Regions from separate parts of the Homo sapiens genome. Here region 1 is linked to region 2. The links are contacts of gene promoters, found by promoter capture Hi-C in human tissues and cell types (Jung and others, 2019). All regions are on one chromosome and are shown on one strand. Each heading gives the region's core, a stretch centred on a gene start or on the middle of the fragment in contact. The rest is flanking DNA. Distances are from core to core; before and after follow the strand shown.

Evidence for each region. The method cuts DNA at HindIII sites, captures the fragments that hold promoters and counts their contacts. A contact is called where the count stands out against the background at its distance.
Region 1: a contact is called between a fragment that was not itself captured here and the fragment with the promoter of KIF23 in region 2, in 1 of the 25 tissues and cell types used here (mesenchymal stem cells).

The regions. Positions count from the first base shown.
Region 1 is chr15:69,273,896-69,278,086 of GRCh38, reverse strand. No RefSeq gene overlaps it. Among named protein-coding and RNA genes, the nearest start is that of PAQR5-DT, 23 kb to the left of the region's middle. The HindIII fragment of the contact is 5,404 bases long and covers 1-4,191 here.
Region 2 is chr15:69,412,514-69,416,425 of GRCh38, reverse strand. KIF23 (kinesin family member 23) reads right to left here and starts at 2,077. Exons shown (of 24, transcript NM_001367805.3): 1 at 1,950-2,077; 2 at 363-432. The coding sequence starts at 1,960. KIF23-AS1 (KIF23 and PAQR5 antisense RNA 1) reads left to right here and starts at 1,397. Exons shown (of 2, transcript NR_132971.1): 1 at 1,397-2,274. RefSeq lists silencers at 1,678-1,757, 1,788-1,907. The HindIII fragment of the contact is 14,046 bases long and covers 1-3,912 here.

The DNA of each region.
Region 1 (4,191 bases), core at 1,000-3,499, 140 kb after region 2:
GAGACACAGTCTCACTCCGTCACCCAGGCTGGAGTGCAGGGGCCCCGCCTCCCAAGTTCAAGCAATTCTCCTGCCTCAGCCTCCCGAGCAGCTGGGATTACAGGCTGCGTCACCATACCTGGCTAATTTTTCTATTTTTAGTAGAGATGGGGTTTTGCCATGTTGGCCAGGCTGTTCTCGAACCCCTGACCTCAAGTGATCCACCCACCTCGGCCTCCCAAAGTGCTGGGATTACAGGCATTAGCCATCACACCCCACAAAAAATGTATTTTTAAAAATTAAAATACAGCTTTAAATAAGACAACCAGGCAACATGTAGACAGGCCTTTGGGTGGGTTCCTGTTGGTGAGAGCTCAGACATAATGAGACAGAGAAGTGCTGACAGCCGAGGAGAAACAGAAACACAAGAGAATGGCCCCATTTCCCCTCTCCTTTCATGCCAAGCCTAGGGCCAAAGGAGACAAGACATGGCCCTGCCTAAGTGCACACCGGGAAGCTCTTTTCCAGATTCCCATAGATGTGAAGGCACCAAGATGAAGAGAATCCAACTGCGAGTCTACAGACCAGGGTTTTACTCCAGCTCCGTCACCAGGACGTTGACCCCACACAGTCCTCACACACACACCGCTGCTCCGCCACTGAGAGGAGGTGCCCACTCGGCCAGTCTCTTAGGGCCATTCTGAGGATAAAATATGTCATTATTTTCATGAAATGAGCTAAAAAGTATAACGTAGGAAGGTTCTTTAGAATCTCATTAATTCAAACTCTAATTTGGAATTTGAAAAATTTTAAACGGTTTCATTTTTCACAGCAAAGAATAAAATTGTGTACCTCCCAAAGCTGTCACTTCATGGACTCACAGAAGGCAGAGACTTCATCTCACTCATCACTGCATCCCTTGCAGCCAGCACAGTGCAGGCTGTTTGCTGTGCATCTGTGTATTCACTTGTGTGTGTGTGTGTGCGCGTATTTGCACGTATTAAACACACGCTGTGTACATTTTAATTTGTAATAGAGGCAGCTTTTTGAAAGTCCACTAGGGAAGAGAGCAAATAGCAGGAGAGGGCTGGAGAGAGGCTAGAGGGGTTTTTATGTTGGGTTATTCAAAAAATAACATCAATGGAAGTTGAAGAAATGGAGGCACATGCTAAGAGACTCAATTGCTGAAAAAACTTCCTGTCTCTGCTTTTGGGCTTTTCTAACCATTTAGTGGAGCAAATACCAATTTCAGCAGATCTGATATAGAGTCCACAGATGAAATGGACTAATTATCTTACCTGGCGAATGTAGGAGAGCTCTGGGGCTGAGATCTGCCTCCCTGGTTGAGCCCACTGTGTAGACGGTGGAGTCAGGAGATAGTGGATTATAGTTATTGCCTGGGGACGATGGGTCAGAACATGGAATTTGGAGTCAGACATACCTGGGCTTGAGACCTTGTTTATCAAATAGCTAAATGGTTTCTGGCAAGTTGTTAACTTCTCCAAGTTTGTTTTTTCATCCGTGAAGTTCACAGACTTCCTCCCAAGGTTGTCAAAAGGATTAGAAAGAACACCCGTGGAGTCTTCTAGCAAGAGCCCGACCCACTGTGGGAGCTTAGACACTCTGGCTCTTCGTGTTGGCCCCACTGCTCTGCCTGTGATTTTGGAAAGGAAAGGCCATCCAAAGCTTACCCCAGGGAAGAGCACTCCAGGCCAGTCAGCTGTGGACTCAGTTATTTATGTTAACTAGTTATGACTCATGACAGGGACAGGTCTCATCTTTGCTTTTGGCAGGTAGCACAATCAGTAGGAAGGTGTTCAATAAATACGTAGTGAAAAGAACTGCACGAACTTCAGCAAGCTCCTTAACCCATTTATGCCAGGGGTTACAATTTTTTGAATTTTTGCACGAATGAAAAATCAGACCTTGGCGATGACCTTGAGCAGTAGGATGTAAATAACTCCCACATGCTTAGCATTCCGATAATGGAACACTAGGCAGCAGTGTTTCTTTTTCTCACCTACCAGGAGTCGGGCTTCCAGAGTCATGGTGAGCAGTTAATGAGAGTTAGTTTGAGGAGCACCTGTAATGGTGCCTGTTTCCTCTTCCTATTCCTAAATGCTCATTAGCAAGAAACACTAACCCAGGACCATGGTTTCCAGTACCCCAGACACTGAAACCTACTAATTCAAGCTCACAAGAAGTTGCCTAGGTAATTTCTTCTGATGGATATTTTCAGATGAAGAGAGTGCCTCTTTCTGTTGCCTGCAGTAGCTGAGAAGATAGACAGACACTTTCCCTAAGACTACCTTGCCACGCCATTGATAGGAATCTGTTTGGGGCCTCCCACTGTATTCAACTGAATTGCAGAAACTTAACTTCATTGGTGTTAAAAAGGAAAGATGACAGAATAACAGGCATTAAATTAAGATCATGCATCTTTGCTATATGTTTGCTTAAAAACAAGACCTCTTCCTCACCCCACTTCAGAGATTTACTTCCTTCTGTAGTCCCCAGAGAGATGAACTCTCTTTACTAGATTTTCTGAACTGAAATGGAGCAGCCATTCTTATCTCAGTGATTTCACTAGGTGCTGACAGAACAGAGCAAACTCCCAGGGAGACACCAGCTCTTCTGACGTTAAGCTTAGATGCAATGAGCTTTGCGTTGCTTAAGAACATCTTATCTAAACTGTGTATTTAATACCAGTTGTCCACTGCTCTATTTCTGGTCCTTCACAGGACTTTTTTTCCGCCCCTTTTGCTGTTCTCTTTGCTACTGCTCTTTGATGGCTTGCTTTGCAGTCCTGTCATTTTGTGAAATCCTCCTAGAAAAGGATTAGCAAAATTACACAGTGTTGCTGCTACTTAACATTCAGGAAATGCAGCATACGCATGCAAGTTATCAATCATTCTTACCAGATGGTAAATGTATCTCTTTTCACCAGAAATTGAGCAGCAAACATTCAAATTCATCACCAATACAACATTTACATTCACATCCATTTTCAGTTTGACATCCTTAATGAGCTGGTATAATGAAAATCAATACTTTATCCCTATATTGTTATTTGTAAGTTACGATAGTGCAGACTTGGGATTAAAAAATTATCATTAAACAAAATCTCACCACTACTTGCACTTTTATATACTCTGTCTATACTTCCCACCAACCCGCTCCCAGTACCCCAGAGTTCTGCATTCCGAATGAGCTAATGAAAAAGGCATACAGGTAAGAAGAATAAAAACCTAGAAGTTGTTGTTGTTTTTACCACTGCTTAAATTTAGTGGTTACCTTTTGTTAGTTTATTACAAACTTTGAGAGCAGAGTTCTCTATTTATTGGATTGTACCATGAGGCAACTGAAGTCTATGGGGTGAAAGAGTAAATTCTTCTTTTATTGAGACGGAGTCTCACTCTGTCACCCAGGCTGGAGTGCAGTGGCATGATCTCAGCTCACTGCAACCTCTCCCTGCAGGGTTCAAGTGATTCTCCTGGCTCACCCTCCTGAGTAGCTGGGATTATAGGTGCGCACCACCATGCCTGGCTAAATTTTGTATTTTTCGTAGAGACGGGGTTTCGCCGTGTTGCCCAGGCTGGTCTTGAACTCCTGACCTCAGGTGATCTGCCCACTTCGGCCTCCCAAAGTGCTGGGATTACAGGCGTGAGACACCGGACCTGGCCTGAGTAAATTCTTGATGCTCTAATGGCTGAGCCAGGGAGCCCTGTATTCTGAGTACCAAGTCTAGATTTCTGCCCAACTAATGTTCCCTACAGATTTCAGTTTTGTCCTTCAATGATTATCATCGAATTAAATGGCAACCCTTTGAGTGGTTGCTACTGGCTGAATTGTGTGCCCCTCACCACTCACACGTTAAGTCCTAACTCCCCGGCATCTCAGAACGTGACTGCATTTAGAGACAGGCCTTCAAAGAGGTAATTAAGGTAAAATGAGGTCACATGAGTGGGCCCTAGACACAGAGAGCACAGTTGGAGAGACAGCCTTGAGGATACAGCAAGAAGGCACCATCTGCAAGACATGGTGAGAGGTCTTGGAAGAAACCAAACCTACCAACATCTTAATCTTGGACTTCAAGCCTCCAGAATTGTGAGAATAATAAATTTCTTGTGTAAGCCACCCGGTCTGTGGTATTCGTTAGAGCAGCTCTAGCAAGCTAATACAACAGGGTCCAGATTGGAGGAAAATGCAGAA
Region 2 (3,912 bases), core at 828-3,327:
AGTTTGGAACTCTCCTCATGCCATCAGTTACTGTATGGCATGAACTCAGTTCATATTCTCTGGGATGAATATGAACCCAGTTGGAGATTTTTAATTATCTAACTCTCCAAATTATAATTACAGAAGGTATGCAGTTGACAACCAAAGACTTCATTTTACTGGACTAATTTAATTAATCTTATAGAGAAAATTTCACAGCTAGCACTAGTTTTACACAATGTAGTACATCCATTTAACTAAATGTTCTTTGATTATACTTCCACATGTCTTCTTCTTTCCCTTCCAAGCATACACATAAGACAGAAAGGACTGAAGAGATAAGTTTCTTAAACACCACACATAAATTTACAGGGATACCTTACCCCAACTGGGTCTTTAAGGTTCGTTTGGGACCCTTTTTTCACGGTAGGTTTCCGGGGTGTCTTAGCTCTCCTGGTCATAGATTAAAAAATAATAATAACTTTTTTTTCAGTTCAACACGAATACAAAAGCCTCACCTAAAACTTATACAATCTTTCTAGGTTATCTGTAAATTATCCCTTAGCAGTTGCAAAACACTGCATCCCAAATAACATTAATAATCATAGTAGCAGAGTGTTTGTGGCATGCGTAATCCAAAAGTAATTAAAATTTGCTTTAGAATACATTTTTGGTACCAAAGCTACCTACTTATTCTCTGATTAGTTCTATACTTAAAATGGCTTGCATATTTTCTTGAGCAACAATTTAACAGAGGCACTACAAATTATAACTGCCCACACTTTACAGACTGACAAGCGATTAACTTCAATACACTATAAAAATGCACATGGAGGAAACCATTCTTTCGTCAAGGGTTACGCCTGTACTTTCAAGGAACAACCAGTCATTGAATGCTCAAAACATTACTCTTTGTCTCCAAACAAAATCTGGTCCCAAACTGCCAATTTCTTGGTTTCTTAAGTAGGGGCAATCAAAAAGTTATTTTGATTGATTTCACCATTTCTCTAGCATCTCATCTTTTTCCCTTCACATTTATCTATAGGCTAGATATACATTTAACACATTAAAATTAAGTAAGATTATTGGCTTCGACTGTAGTTTAAAAATATTTTTCCAAACATATTCTCAGATGAAACACAAGCAAATTCGTGTTATTCAGTGCAAAATACTTTGTGGTGGGCTTAAGTTAAACTCAACGTATATTTCTTATATATAATTTTTTTCATCTAAAGATTTTGACTTCGGCCTCTTAATAAACAAGTTGTCTTTTGCAAACGACTCCCTAAATGGTAATAAAGCCAATCCTCTCCTTTGCACGACAAATATTTCTTTACCCAGGAATGATGCTGCGCCGAAAATATTAGCTTAGGAATGTGGGCGGAGGTTCTCTGCGGCCACAAAATACAGCAGAAGTAACTGGCCTGTGTAAGCGGATGGGCTCGGCCTCAAGGACAGGGTGCTCGGCTGAAAAAAAAGCTAGCGGCGATCACCGGTGCCAGGGCTCTCCAGAAACGGAGCCCATCTAACCAATGCCCAGCACACTCGCTCTGCTCCACACACGAGACCACCTCCGACCCGCACTAAGTTGGCCAACTGCACTCTGGAGGCGGCGGCAGCCAGCGAGGGAGAAGGGAAAGGCTGTCCCGGGACCCCGAGGAGGACTGCCCCGCCCCCGGGAACCGGGTGCGGCGTAAAACAACCCCGGCTCCGGGCCGACCCTTCCTGGCCCCTTGGAGGCCCAGGCGGGGCGGCGGGGGGCGACGCGGCAGGGGTCTCCGCGCCCAGGCTCCCGCGGAGCGGCCACACGTGGAGGTTCCCACTTTGGGGTCGCGGCCGCAGCAGCACCGGGCGGGATGCTGTCCGCGCTGCCCGCGTACGGCCGCGGCCTGAGTGGAGACGCCTGCCCCCAGCCCCGAGGCCTCGGCCCCCGTCCGCCCTCTCTCCCTGCTCGGCGGCCTCGTACTCACGCTGACTTCATGGCAGCAGGCTCCACGCCGCCCAAACGCGCATGCGGGACGGCTGGCTGGCGAAGACTGCGGGACGTTAGGACCGGCAGCAAGAACTAGAACTTCGCGGCTAAGGCGCGGTGCTCTGCGAAGCCGGCGGCGACGCTAAGAGCCCAGGTGAGCTCCCGCCTGGCGCATTTCAAACGGGCCAATCAGCGCCCGTCCGCAGGGAGAGGCAGGACCTCCGCGGAAGTGACTTCGCTGCCGGAAGTGGCGCTTGTCTCCTAGGCGACCGACGCTGAAAGGGCCGCGGAGTCGCGTGTCAGGGCTGGAGGGAGATCTTGAGGTATGGTATTTAAACTCTTCCGCCTTGCGATGACGAAACTGAGGGTTTCTTTTCCTCCATCACAAGAAGTTCAATGGAAGGGCCTTTCCAGGGTTGATTCAGAGGTCGGAATGTCGTTCTGGTGAAAAGTGTTGTATTCCTGTGCTGTGCCCTGCTCCAAGTCTCAGGCTCCGTCTCTCTGGCTCCCAAGTCACCACATTATCTTGGCGTCTTTTCTCTCTCTGATTCACCTTTCCTGGGTTTCCCTCCAGCTCTGTCCTATATGTACATTATTTTATCAAATCTTTTTTTTTTCCTTTTTTATTTTTTGAGGTGGAGTTGCTCTGTCGCCCAGCCTGGACTGCAGTCTTCAGCTCACTGCAACCTCCACCTCCTAGGTTCAAGCAATTCTCTTGCCTCAGCCTCCCGAGTAGCTGGGATTACAGGCGCGCACCACCACGCCCAGCTAATTTTTGTATTTTTAGTAGAGATGAGGTTTCACCATATTGGCCAGGGTGGTCTAGAACTCCTGACTTAAGGTGATCTGCCTACCTTGGCCTCCCAAAGTGCTGGGATTACAGGCGTGAGCCACTGCGCCCGGCCTGTTTTATCAAATCTTGATTGTGTTTGATCCTGGCCTTACGGAGATGAATAAAATTTGGTCCTTACCCTTAAGGGGCAACCTTTTGAACCTACTCTTGCCTTAGATGAACTGATTCTATATCACTTCTGTCTTTGACCCTAAGCCGATGACTACCAAATACACATCTACACCTGGGCTCTCATGGAACTCTAGCCCCTTCTCAACTTCCTAAAGGACCACAGCACTGGTAAGGATAGTCACAATGTCCTTGGCCAATATTGTTGGTGCTCAGGAAACGACACCCCAGAGTATGGCTCTTTGGCACACTGAGTGCTTTGAACTAAAGAAGACTGAAAGTGCCTCAGAGAAGCCTTAAAAGCAAAGTCTGTCTCTGACTTTCTCCTGCCCTCTTGTCTCCCACCCCTCTGTGTCTCCTAAAGCAAATAATAGAAACCAGAATTTCTGTTCCCCAAGGCGGGTCATGGAAACTAGAACCCCTTTTCTCCCAAGCAAGCCAGAAACATTATTCTAGAAAAACCTAGAAATATTAATCTAGCCTTCCCCCACCTTTTTGTGTAAGAGCTGGCCATAAAGACATTCTTTGATGTACCTTGTCATAAGACCCTCGTTCCAAAAGGGTCTTGCCCTACACTCAGGAAGAAGGAAAGCTGCACAGAGAGGCCAAGAAGAATCTGAACAGACAGGACTTGCTGGATTCCTCCTTCAGTCTGTTACTATTAGATCATACTCCTTTTGTACAATCACATTTCTACACAGCTGTCCATTCTTCATCTCATCTAAGCATAAAAATGGACAGCTTTCCCTGGGTCTTTGGGTCTTCATTTCTGAAGGCACTTACATCCCATAAAACTGTGATTCAATAAGTTATCCATTTATCTTGCTAACCTGTTTTTTGTTATGGTAGTGTCAGCTGTGACCCTTAAGATGGGTAAAGAAAAGTATCACACCTTTTCCACCCCTACATTGCACATTAGGATGGTTCCAACTTTTCCTATTACAGATACAGCTATAGTGAATGAATGTGGAAATTTATACAATGCAGGTAAATATGTAGG